2 separate regions of the Homo sapiens genome follow, and region 2 is linked to region 1. Evidence: promoter capture Hi-C in human tissues and cell types (Jung and others, 2019). All regions are on one chromosome and are shown on one strand. Each heading gives the region's core, a stretch centred on a gene start or on the middle of the fragment in contact. The rest is flanking DNA. Distances are from core to core; before and after follow the strand shown.

Region 1 (7,067 bases), core at 4,274-6,773:
ACACTAATAATAACATGTCATTTTCATACAGGAAGGTGTTTTTACTTTTTGCTAAGGACTTAGGATATATGTCTAATTTATCTAAAAAGCTGTGTCATAGCAGTGAATACTTTGACAATGCATTACACTCTTGATATCTGTTTTAAGTCCACACACATCAAGGCACACATGGTTCTTCCCCATGGGGGTAAGCACTGTTGGCAGATTGGTAGATACTAACGTGGGCTACTTAATTGTTCTGGACTGTTTCCTCAATTAAATGAAAGACAGTGTGACACTCAAATTTGTAAATAGAAATATATTATCCACATTTCTTCTCTCTTCTCATATCATCACAATTAGTGTGGTATTTTGGTTGAATAGTATTGTCATTCTGTGTATCATAAGACGTTATTGAATATACAATTTAGAGTCACACAAAAATATTTTAAGGGCCAGCTTCCAGAATCAGACATATTTAGATACATATCTCTCTCAATCACTTACTAGTAAACTGACTTCGGAAAAATTATATGATGCCTGGGGATCTTTATCTGTAAATTGCAACAAGAAAAGTATTAACCTCATAAAGGTATTGAGGAGATAATAAATTCAAAGTACTTTGCTGTCAATCAATGACGATGGTCATTACTATTTTTGCTATTATTAATATGATGAACAGAAAAAATATTAAGTAAAAAATGACTCACATATTAGTTCATCTTTAAGGCCAAAATATTAAGTAAAAAATGACTCACATATTAGTTCATCTTTAAGGCCAATCTGGAATTGGAGGTAAGAACAACCCCTTTGATTTCAATTTTTTAATTTGCATTCAGTATTCTGTACAAAGACATCTACGACTAAAAACTAAGCTTCTTTCACTTGCCTATGTGCAATTGGAGTCAGTCTTAATGTTGTAAAGGACATGAAAGATGAAATAATCCTATCTCTTCCTCTTCCAAGTCTAATATTCCGGATAAGTTAAATTCCCTTTCTGAGCCTCTCCTCTGGTTTCTCATCAAAAATATGGATATGAAAATAACTTGCAAGTAAATTTTGAAGTTTTAAAACCATAATGTAGAAAATTTTTTTGCAATTAATAGGTAATCAATGAAAGATGGCTATTATTGTTTAAAAGTTAGTTTAAAAATAAGAGATTGCAGAACATTTTAAGGATAATGTGCTATTTGAAGAAAACATATGGAAGTGATTTTATCAAATATCAAATAATGTTTTTATTATTCTAATAAGACTGGCTACAAATCAACATTTCCTAATGTAAGTTTTACTGTCTTTCAAGTTTTATGAACAGTGTTTGCAAGATGCTGAATTACTGTCCCACTATTCTCATCATCTTCTGCTGTAATTTTCTCTTTATTTATATTTATTCTCCCATTATCTATTTTGATAAATGTTTAAAGATGATGATTTGGAGGAGAACCATATCTAAAACAGCTGGACATACTTTTATTGAAAATATCTGATCATTATAGTGGTAAATGGACTGAAAGTTTGATGAAAAATTTCATGAATGACTATTACAGTGCAGGCTGTCATTAAAGAGGAAGTATGACTCATGTAGAGAGAATACAGAAAAAAATAATTTATATCTTTAAACCATGTTGTAAGGCTATTTAGGCAATGGCAACAGTGATGAGTACTTATGTCACACACAAAAAATGATTTGGTGAGAATACTCTCTCTGTATCCAAAGTTTGATTTCTTAGTATAACAGAAGATATTTAGGGCTGTATTTAGGTTTTATTATCAAGTCAAATAAAATAAATATATTATAGGCCAGGTGAAGATGGATGCATAGAAAATAGAGTCCTTAGCTACCCAGGAGTCTGAGGTAGGAAGTTTGCTTGAGCATGAGAGGAGGAGGTTGCAGTGAATCAAGATCATGCCACTGTACTCCAACCGGGGCGACAGAGCCAGACCCTGTTTCAAAAAGAAAAAAAAAAAGAAAAAAGAAAGAAAAGAAGGTTAGAAGGTTTTTAGTGTTTAGATGTAGGCCTACAAAATGTTCTCAGTGTAGACGTACAAGAAAGAAATGGATAACAGGGTCCCAGTAAGCAAAAAATGCATGTACCCACAAAAATTAAAAATAATTAAAAAAAAAACAGCCACAACAAAATTCTATCATTCCATTAAGCAAATAAAAACAAGCAAAAATAGGGGAGGTTAATTCTTTGTGACTTTTCTTCTCTGCAGCAGATTTTTAACGTCAATTAACCTGTTTATTTCTTGGTACAATCCTGCAAATTATGCATTGTCATTTTCATTTTACTAATAAAGAAACATGAAATTTGAAGAAATTAATAAATGAGGCCAAGATTTACACATTCATTCAACACTATTCTAGGTGTGTGGGCAACATCAATGGACAAAAATAGATACAAATCTCTGCCTTCATGAAGCCTACATTTTAGCAAGGAAACAGAGGCCACAAACTGTAAGTATATTGTATGATGAGTTGGGAGGTAATAAGTACTATGAAAACAAAAAGAAAAGCAGGCAAAGGGGGATTGGAAATCTTTGGATGGGAGATGGTTTGCACTTTTAAATAACATTGGATAAATCTCTGTGAGACGGTGACATCTGGGTTGATGTTGAAGATATGAGGGAGTCAGTCATGTGGTGGTCTGGGGGGAAAGCATTTTAGACAGAGGAGCCAATAACCTAAGATGGGACCATACCTGGCTTTGGCATGTTGGAGAAGCAGCAAGATCAGCAGGGCTGAAAGAGAGCGAGCCATTAGGAGAGAAGAAGTCAGAGTTAGGGGGAGGAGATGCATAACAATTGAAGGTTTGTAGACCATTGTAAACACTGGTTTATAAAATGGGGACTAACTGCTGGGTGTTGAGTTGAGGAATGACACAATATGACCTATGACATGTTTTAAAGGGATCACTCTGGCTACTGTTTTGAGATTACTCAAGGGTAGGAGAGGACAATGATAGAGGCAGGGTGAGTAGCTAAAGTGCTATTATAGTAATCTAACGTAGAGATGAAAGTCACTGAGTCTAGGTTGGCTGCAGTAAAAATCATAAGAAGTAGCTGAATTCCTGTTGTCATTTGAGAGTAAACAGGATTTCCTCAGAGATTTGGTTGTGAGGTGTGAGAAAAAGAGCGGAATCAAGAACAACTTCATGATTTTTAGCCTGACCAACCCTAAGGATGAGGTTGCCGTGAACTGAGAAGGAGAAGGCTGAATGTGGGGCAGATTTTAGGGAGAACCATAGCTCAGTTTGGGACACACTGAGTTTGACATGTTTATTAAATACGCAAGTTGAAATGTTGAAAAGGCAGTTAGATAGATGAGTCTGGAGTTCTGGAGAGATGTCTAGTCAGGAGAAGTACATATGGGAGCTATCAACATGGTGTTTAAAACCTTGTGACCAGATGAAATTACTAAAGGAGTGAATATTGATAGAAATAAATAGAGAAAAGTAGATCAACACTTGACAGAATTGGGGAAAATAGGTTATTTCATGACATTATTTAGAAGCATCCCTTTTCACACTATGATATAAAAGTTATAGAAATATAGGTAAGCAGATCACTTTCATAGAAAAAAATTTTCAGAATTCTGAACTTGACCATTTTACAGGCTAGAAGAAGTGCTTTTAGGGCATCAACTATATTTCTTAACCTTTGGGCCAAAACCCTACAAACCCATCCAACCTGCTGGACTTGCTTTTCTTCTGAATAACCTAATTCTCCAATATAACATCCATGGATGGCACAGAAACAATACTAGGGAAGGTGAGCAAGTCTGTTGTAGGTATTTTCAGCATAGTTCTTCCAAATGTGGACATTAGAGTTTGTAAATAAAAGATGTTCATTTTATTACAGGAATCGGAATTCCTATTATTCTAAACTCTTAATAATTTCTTGATTAATTGAAAACTAAGTGTAAGGTTTTCGCCAACTTCTAAACTCCCCTGGCTGCATGAAAACTAATTCCTTTATCATTCTTCATATGACCTATTCACCAAAAGTTATATCTTATGAAACGTATATTATCAATATAGTTCTCTCTAATAAAGCATTAAAATCCAAAGTTATATCCTGATCCACTTTGGCGGGGGGGTCTTCAAACAGTACAGCTCTTTGAATAATGATCATTTTGTAATGTAAATAAGGTAATGATCACTTATTAATGATCACTACTCTTAGGCAGCAGAATATCTCATGAAGCTTATGGAACACGGTTATATGCAGGAAATATTCCTTCCCTCCATATGCTGCGGGTGGAAAAATTTATTAGTGGATACATCTGTGGGTCCACAATACAATGCTAAGTGATGCTCACTTGAGACAATGCTTTTTTAATAAAAAAAATCCATCAGGACCTGGTGCAGTGGGGTGGGGTGGCTCAAGCCTGTAAGCCCCCCAGCTTGGGAGGCTAAGGCAGGCGGATGGCTTCAGGCCAGAGTTGGAGACCATCCTGGACAACAAAGCCAGAGATGCTGTCTCTTAAAAAATAATAATAATAATTAGTGGAGCGCAATGGCCTGTCTGTTGTTCCAGCTACTCTACTAGGGAGACCGAGACAAGAGGATCTCTTGATTGCCCAGAAGTTCAAGACTGCGGTGAGCGATGACTGTGCCTCTGCACTCCAGCCTGGGCAACAAAGTGAGCTCCTGTTGCTTAAAAAATAACAATTAAAAAAAATCAATCAGGCATACATTCAAGAGGTAATAGGATAGCCTTATCTGTTATCTAAGGGCTGCATATCCAAGTAAGGGCTACTTCTTCACAAGGATGAGGACAACAGTATTTTGCTCTTATAAGGCAGAGACCCTGTCTGGTTCAGATATGCAAAAATCACTAATTTTGAATCTCTGGTAAATTTCTTTCAAGATCTGTAACTCTAAGTAAATCTCTTAATATAACTGAGTTTCAGATTCTTCATCTACAGAAGGGGATGACAAAACTTGCCCAGGAATGTGGTGAGGGCCACATGAGATAAGGCGAGTGAAAGGTGTTTTGCAACTGTCAAGTTCTGTACACATGTTAATTATGTAACAGATGTTAAACATAGTATTACCTGTATGACTATATTGTCAGTAATTTTGACCAATTTAAGCTTGCTCAGAAAGTTCAGGCTTTTAGAAATTGGAAGACCCGGAGATTAAGCTGGATGTCTGGGTTCCAGGCAAATGGTGAAATGACAGAAAATGTGTTTTGTTCGCTTTGACCCAAGAAGGTCATTTGTTGCTCTGTTGTTTGTTGCTAGTGGTCAAAAGCTGACCCCAAGCAATCCCAGCTCCTTGAAAGGTTTTTTCTTTTTGTACCGACACTATCATTCCCGCCCTTCGTCCCCAACTCCTTTAGTCCCCTAAGGAGTGAGGGGGGTACACATTTCTGCTCGGTAACCCCTCCAATGCCTGAAGGGGACGATGCCGTGACGTTGCTCTGTCGGGACACCTCTTCCCTCCCCCGCCCGCGGTCGCCAGGTTCCCCCGCGGCCCGCGCTGTCCCCGCTGCGGCCCCGACCGCGGCGCGCCACGGCGCAGGCTCCGCGGCCCGAGCAGGCGCGTCAGCCGAGCTCGGCGGTGGCGCGGGCGGCTGGGACGCAGCTGCCCCCGCTCGGCGCCCGCTGCACCCTTAGCAGCCACTGCCACCTGGGCCCGGAGCCTCCACGATCTCGCCCGGCGATTGTGGGCAGGGGCGCCTCCGGGTAAGTGCCAGGAGCTCCACTTAGGAGGAGGGGACGCGGGTTGGGGCGGCGACGGTGGTCTGAGGACGGGAATAGACGCCTTTGCGGAAACAGCGGGTCAAGCCCGGGGCGGCGGAGCGCGAGGAGCACTGCGGCGTGCCCGGGAGGACGCGCGCTGCCCTGCGCGGGAGAGGGGCGCGGGGCGCCTGGCAGCGGCAGCCGGGTCCCCGCTGCGGTGGCGCCCGCGGAGACGCTCCGGGTGGAGAGATGCAGAGGGCCGGGGTAATTAGGAAACGCAAGGTTGGCCAGGAGGGCTCCTTGCGTTGTTTTGTTTATGAGGATCCTCCAGTCAATGCAGCTGTCCCCCTTGAAAGATTGGGGGTGAGGACAGAGCAGAGTGGTGAATTTCTCTGTTTTTCGAAGCGTTAGGGGGGCTCGGCCCTCCTTTTTGCGGGGGCAAGGATGTGAAAGTGGGAGAAGTACCTGCTGCTGTGGGCAAGGTGTCTGGAAGCAGGTGCCGCTGTCGGATGGGGGAAGGGAGCGTCCAATGTTGTGAAGTTGCCAGAGGAGAACCTTGTGTTGTTGCTGTTGGTCTGATGAGCCCCCTCTGTTGTCTTCAATTTAAAGTACCCAGGGAGAAGCCCCTCTGGCTTGCCTGGAGTGTGTGTAAAAGATAAATATGGGGGGAAGAATCCTGGGGGGGGGGGGGGAAGATGAAAAACATGACATAAGGAGAAGCAAATTTCTGAGGGTGAGATGGGAATTAAGTTAGCGTTGAAGAATATGACAGGTCTTTTACTCTGCGGAAAACAATGAAAGAGAAACAATTTATGGTTTGGAAATGAAGGTTGCAGAAGAGTTTGAACTTCTCTAGTGTAGGTAGAGGCTTAATTATTTTTTATTTATCAGAATCTCTGGCAAGAATATGGTTCTGATTTGAGCATGAAAATGTTATTAAAATATGGCTAGGACGATAATTTGAAAAAAATGTAACAACACTTGTTTTATTTCTTGTTGTAGAATTTCTGAAGTAATCTTTTTGATGACAAATGTTAGTAGCAAATAAGTAAGAAAGCTTTAAAGCTAACTTAAGAGGCACCTTTTTGGGGCAAAAAGGTAGCTTGCCAATGTAATGTGTTTAAATAAAAAAAGCAATGAATTTTGAATGTGGAACTCTTTGATATTAACTTTTTCTTTTATCTGTCTTTTTTAATACTTAGAATTTCTTTTTCTTTAAAATACATTATTTTTGAAAAAATATACATAAGAACTTCAAACAATATAAAAATTTAAAAAGAAAAAGATACTTCCAAAGTACTAGCCGAAGATAATCATTTTAACGCTGTGTTAAACCATGCTTCCAGATATCTTTCTGAACATATTTTTGATATACTGTGCAATTCAATATCAATTTATA
Region 2 (7,067 bases), core at 2,839-5,338, 93 kb before region 1:
AATCCTGTACTGCATATTAAACAATTGATAAATTAACTACAAAAACTCTGAGTAGATATTAATAGAATTTCCCATTTTTAACATGAAAAACTGAGCCACAGAGAGGTTTTTGGGCTTACCCAAGGTCACACAGTTCATAAGTATAGAAGCCTGACTTAGAGTTCAGATAACTGGTTTTAGAACTGGCACTTTAAAGTATCATGTTTGCATTGCCTCATGTCATCTAGCAAGTGATAAATATACCGTGTCTTAAAAAACACATTTCAAACTTATTAAGTATACATTTATATTAAGCATTTGGTGTTTATTTTATGACTACACACAATTCCAGTCATAAATATGTAACTTAAAATTCTATGGCCAATCACAAAAAATAAATCATAGTGATTTTGTCTGATATCCAAAGAAGGATGCCTCAAGCATACAGGAAACAGGCATTCGGTCAATGAAAACGTCGCAATACTGTATCTCGATTGAATACTCTCTTTAGTGGGTCTAGAAATGAAAAATTAATCTTCTGAAACCTTGTGAAGGAAAAATGATTATATGGTGCCCTTTGTTAGCAGTAAAACCTTGCCGTAAAATCACCATTAAAGTGTTGCTGGTTCTGACAACTTATGATGAAGGAAACACAAAAGGTGTATTCAAATACGTTTCTGAAGGACAATAACAGGAAAAATCAAAGTTAGTGCGATGACTGGCTATTTTCTTGGTGAAGGTGAGATTGTAAGGGGGAGGCAGTTCTGTTACTACTAACCTTGAGAGTATCTTGAACTTTATCAAAATAGCTATTTGTCAGAAACATTAAAGCAACCTGTTGAGCCCAAGAAGTTACAGTGGAAGTAAAAATGCATTATTGTTGCCCTCACCATTTCTCCCGCTTATTTTTGCACATCCCATCAATCTGCATTTGCTTTTTCCCATGTTAAGTATACACCCTATCTTCTCCCATGATCTATCTATTCCTTGCACAAAGGCCTCCCAACTGCTTTCTACCTAGGCTACTTTTATGCTTCTCCAAACTGTCATCAGATTATCAGCTTGATCTAGTTAAAACAAAAACCTGATCAGGATGCCCTACTCCAAAGTTTTCAGTCTTCCTTTGCCTGCAGAATAAAATCTATACTCCTAGCAATGATCTGCTCTTCCTTAAGTGCCCAAATCTCACACTCTCTGAGTGTCTTGTAGTTTCCTGACATACGGCAACTTACATGTTCCTACTTAGTTTTTGCATCTTTTCTTATGCTCCTTCCACAATGATGCATAACCCAATATATTATATAAGTCTATTCTATTTTGATTTTTTTTTTTTTTTTAGAGTCTCACTCTGATGCCTAAGCTGGAGTGCAGTGGTATGATCTGGCCTTGCTGACTGCAACCTCCGCCTCTGGGTTCAAGTGTTTCTCATGTCTCAGCCACTGGAGTAACTGGGATTACAGGCCTGTGCCACCACACCCGGCTAGCTTTTGTATTTTTAGTAGAGGTGAGGTTTGACCACGTTGGACAGGCTGGTCTCAAACTTCTGGCTTCAAGTGATCTGCCTGCGTTGGCCTCCCTAAGAGCTGGGATTACAGGCGTGATCCACTGCACCTGACCCTATTTTGCTTTTTATTCATCTTCTTTTTTCCCAGCACTTAACATATTGCACTTATCAAATAATAATTGCTAAGTCTCCCCATGTGCCAGGTACTGTCCTAAGGACTTCATGTATATTCACTGCTTTATTCTCACAACAAACATATGAAATAGATATTATAAAATCATAATAGTTTTATAGCGGAGGAAAGTGAGCTACTGAGGGCTAAGCATTTCATTTACAACCACACAAGTGATAAGTGGCAGAGCTGGGTTTTTAGCTTGTATAGTTCATGCACTTGACCATTACATCACTCTGCCTCATGTAACAGAGGGTGTTCAACTAGTATTTGGAGGCAGTGTAGACTCCCAGCCAAGATCCAAGCACTGGAGTCAAACATAGAAGCTAACATCTTAGCCCCTTACCTAAACTGAGGAAACAAATACCAGCAATCATATTCCCCAGCATGAGACCCACCATCACTACAAACTGATAATAACAGAATCTACTTCAGATATAATAAGAATTAAATGAGACAAAGTATGTGAAGCCTTTGACACAATGACCTGTGTGTTTTAAACATGCAGAACATGTAATGGATTGTGTAATTGTATTCTTTTTAATTAGGAGATAAACTTTTTTCTGTTTTAACATTTCTGAAATTCAGATAGCTTACATTCAATGTAAGAAGAAACTTAACAACTATTTTTTTTTCTTCCCAAAAGGCTATTTTAATTAAATGGGGAATTTTATAAGCAATGGTATCTTAAAATCAATATAATACTAAATAATTATTTTTACTAAATAAAGAAGCCTTTTTCTATAGTCCATCCTATTTTTTGCCATCACAATACCAGGATGAGTCTCTCTTAACCTTCTAAAAATTTTGTATGCCAATCCTCAACCTCACTGCCCAATATTATCGTTATATTTTATAGCTTTGCTGATATACCTCCCTGCAATTGATTACAAAATCTTTGACAGCAGAAATTTTCCTTTCCTCTTTTTGTTTTAATCTGCCAACCATCTCTCCTCCTCCTCCTCCTCACTCCAGTGTTGGACATTGTATATGTGGTGCTCCACGTTTAACATGCATTTTAATTATTTTTTGAGTGAAATTAACAAAAATATGAAGTCACCAAAATGCAGATATACCCACGCTAAATCTTCATGGAAGAAAAATAGAAGGAAGAGCAGCAACATCTGACATAATTAGGGTGACTGGAGCCATGTGGAGTTCATTTTCTTGCTTGGCTGTCAGTCAAAGTTGGGGATCTTGTAAAAGGAAGCTCTAAATTATGGAAAACAGCAGTCAAGCTGTACTGAACCTCTAAGCTCACACATAAGTGAAAATTATGCATGTAACTCCATTTTTTCGGTGAATTGGAAAGAGGATCCAGTAGGTACTTTCCAAAATGGAAGCAATGCTGTGTTTGTCTTTTCATAAATACTGTGTTAACATTCTTTCCAATATTACAAGATTATTTCTCAGGACTGGCAAACAGCCCATGCTCATATTGTCTGACTGGTTTAAATAGAGTTAATTCTTTTTGATAGAGAAATCTTACATAGCAGATGGTTCACAAGTCTCTGTCTATTTAGTAACCAATCTGTCATATCCAAGATGTCATCATTTTGGAAAATAACTTCTATGAAAGTATCTTCTTCATGTTTTGAAAATATGACCTCAGATATAATTCTTTTTTATTAGTTTTGAAGTTTTCATGTTACAGTTTAAAATGTATATTTGTGTGTGAATGTGGTCTCTAAATAATTGATGCCTATGGCTGCCTGGACAGAAGAAATTTTAAGAGCCACGAAGCTCACATGGGATATGAAGTGTTGCGGTTTTATGACTATTCATACCTAAAGTAAATTAGTTAAATGACAATTTATTTTACATTTCATGTGCTTTTAGAAATTACTTTTACTATGATATTAGACTTCAGATCTGAGTTAATGTCAAAAAAATAGAAAAACTGCTATGGGATGAACCAAACATGCCACTTTTTTCCCCTATCTGGCAATGATTTATTATTTTGATATATTGATATTTTATTATACTGAATAAATAAATTCATTGCAGAGTAGTAAAAACTACATTAATGAGCTCAGATAAAATATAACTACTTAATGACTTTTCAAGCTCATAAATATTTATTCTATTAAGCATGATATAAAATACTGGTTATGATGATATTTTTCTTATCCCTTAGCAAGTTTCATCTGATACATTTTATATGCAGAAATGACACATTTGCAGCTGACATGGTATGGAGTTTTTACCACTACTCCATTTAAATGTCCCTCATGAAATGATCAGGCAAAAAGCTTCATAGGGAAAAGCTAGCACATATTTTTTAAGTGAGAGTGAGTTTTCATTAGTAATTTAATTTTGAAAGTTCAAAAAACGTTTCAAAACATATCAATTGTTGGTTCAAAACAATGGACACCACGGTACCCTGGAGAGTACTCACAAGCAGAAATTCTGAGTTCTATCCCAATTAGATATGTGACTTTAACAAAAAGAAGAAGAAGACAAAGAAGAACAACAACAAGAACAACAACTTTTCTGGTCCTTGGTTTCTATCACTGCAAACATGTAATTCACCCTGGTTGATTTCAAGATGCCTTCCATTTCCAACATCTTCTAATTCAATTTGTAATTATTTGTTTTCTACCAAAATATTCTCTCATTTTTTTTTGCAGAAAGATAATTGCTAAAGGCAATATTACTTGGGCCTTGAAGACATTTCTGGCCAGACGAAGAGTATAGATAACTCTAAAAATATTAAAAATTATTTAAAACAAGGAAATGAACAAAAGCTTATATAGGAGCAGGGAAAAGAATGTGGAATCTAAGAAAGAAGAATGGAAGGAAGCTCTCAAGGAAGAAGGATAGATTTTCTAGTCAAAATATGCCCTTTTTAAGAAAAATCTGTTATCCCAATTATTCTTTAAGTGTTTAACAATTTAGGATTTTTATGTTGTCTTTAGTCATTATCCTTTCATAAAAATATGAGTTATGTCAGTGGCCAATTTCTGTTTTGGCCTGTGCTGGTGGCCCTGCAGGAACAAGACTATATTGTTTGAACTCCACAGAGTAGTGTAAAAGGATATTGATTGATGGATCTGTCTATTCTTCTATACATATGCAAATTATATTTGCATTAATATTAATATTTTCTAGATACAAAAGAAAATATTTTCTGTATCATTATATGATAATAATAATAAATATTAATCGTTTCTAGATTTAAATGTAAATTAAACACACTACAGTTATTAAAACTGATCTCATGATGTGCTGCTATGAATTTGTTGTTTGCCTTTCTAACACTGTGCTGTTATTCACATTGATAACACCAGGAGGCACATAGAGGAGACTCTGCATCTGTTACTATGGTGACTATTAGGCATATTTTAAAAGAAGTGCAACCATCATGTATGCATAAACTTAAAATATTATTGTCCAGCTTCTTTAGAATTGTTGAGAATTAGACATCATATTAAAAATATTTTTTGAAGTCATATGTTTTCTGTTTTCCTTCTCAAAGAAAACATAGCTAATTTCAACAATACAGACAAATAAACTGAGTTTTTATGGATAGTAAATCACATCCTCTGTTTTTCTCTAAAAATATTCAAATTATTATTTTGTATGTAGGCTTGGGAGATAGCCACATCTGTCTCATATCATTAACTTTGCCACTTATTTGATGTGTATTGTAATCTGTAACATAAAAGGAATCATAGACAGGAATTTGAATAAATAAGAGATATATTTGGTTTGAGTATACTAACCAAAATTATTTTTAGAATGAGGAGACAGATAAAATTTTACTTCGTAGCATCTATTTGAATTAAAGTGTCATTATTAACTTCTTGGATATTTCTTTTCACATCATGAATCATAATAGCATATTGATACTGATGTATTCTGAGCTTGCATTTCTACTATTTTATTTACTCCTTTTCTTCAACAAGTACCAACTATGAATATCAGGCGTTGTGTTAGGTTCTGGGAGACAATGGTGATAGAGTAGATGGAGAAAAGAAAAGGGCCCAGGAATAGCCTCGAGAATATCTAATATGCAGACCTTGGGTCAAGAAGAATGATTAAGTAAAAGGGACTAGGAAAAGCCAACTCTACGGGGTAAAATGAATACAGGAATGTGTTGTAATAATAAAAACAGGACAGTGAAAGGTGAGAAAAAAAAGTGCATTTTCAGTAGCCAGAGATGTGGAGTGTATCTAATAGAGAATAGTGAAAATAGAAAAATTATACAGTAGATTTGGAAACATAGAAGTTATTGGTGACCTTGACAAAAGATGTTTTAGTGGTAACGTAATAATTGGAGCTAAAATGAAATGAGAATGAAGAGTGACTTGCAGATGTTATAAAAATAATTTAAAAAAAGGCCGGGCGGGGTGGCTCACGCCTGTAATCCTAGCACTTTGGGAGGCCAAGGCGGGTGGATCACGAGGTCAGGAGATCAAGACCATCCTGGCTAACACGGTGAAACCCCGCCTCTACTAAAAATACAAAAAAAAATTATCCGGGCGTGGTGGCGGGCACCTGTAGTCCCAGCTACTCGGGAGGCTGAGGCAGGAGAATGGCTGAACCCGGGAGGAGGAGCTTGCAGTGAGCCGAGATCGCGCCACTGCACTCTAGCCTGGGCAACAGAGCGAGACTCCATCTCAACAAACAAAACAAAACAAAAAAACAAAAAACAACACATTAAAAAAAAAAAACCCTTGGCTGGGCACGGTGGCTCACGCCTGTAATCCCAGCAGTTTGGGAGGCCAAAGCTGGTGGATCACCTGAGGTCAGGAGTTCGAGACCAGTCTGACCAACATGGTGAAACCTCATCTCTACTAAAAATACAAAAATTAGCCGGGTGTGGTGGTGTAGGCCTGTAATCCCAGCTACTCGCAAGGCTGAGGAAGGAGAATCGCCTGAACCCAGGAGGCGGAGTTTGCAGTGAGCCGAGATCATGCCATTACACTCCAGCCTGGACAACAAGAGTGAAACTCTGTCTCAAAAAAAAAAAAAAAAAAAAAAAAAAAATATATATATATATATATGTATAATTCAATGAGATTTAAAAAAATTTTTTGTTGTTGTTGCTTGGAGAAAGAGTTTCCCTCTTGTCACCCAGGGTGGAATGTAATGGTGTGATTTCAGCTCACCTCATCCTCTGCCTCCTGGATTCAAGTGAATCTCCTGCCTCAGCCTCCCAAGTAGCTGGAATTACAGGTCTGCGCCACCACGCCTGGCTAATTTTTGTATTTTTAGTAGAGATGTGGATTCTTTATGTTGGCCAGGCTGGTCTCGAACTCCCGACCTCAGGTGATCCGCCCACCTTGGCCTTCCAAAGTGTTGGGATTACAGGCATGAGCCACCATGCCAGAACTGAATTATAATTTATATATAGCTAAATGCATGCATTTTAAGTGTATAATTTTATGAGTTTTGTCAGATGTATAC

What was found. The method cuts DNA at HindIII sites, captures the fragments that hold promoters and counts their contacts. A contact is called where the count stands out against the background at its distance.
Region 2: a fragment that was not itself captured here is called in contact with the fragment with the promoter of GLRB in region 1 in 2 of the 25 tissues and cell types used here (hippocampus and mesenchymal stem cells).

What each region holds. Positions count from the first base shown.
Region 1 is chr4:157,070,627-157,077,693 of GRCh38, forward strand. It overlaps GLRB (glycine receptor beta), which reads left to right and starts at 5,524. Exons shown (of 10, transcript NM_000824.5): 1 at 5,524-5,671. RefSeq lists a silencer at 2,631-2,925. The HindIII fragment of the contact is 3,601 bases long and covers 4,632-7,067 here.
Region 2 is chr4:156,978,618-156,985,684 of GRCh38, forward strand. No RefSeq gene overlaps it. Among named protein-coding and RNA genes, the nearest start is that of PDGFC, 10 kb to the left of the region's middle. The HindIII fragment of the contact is 5,507 bases long and covers 1,336-6,842 here.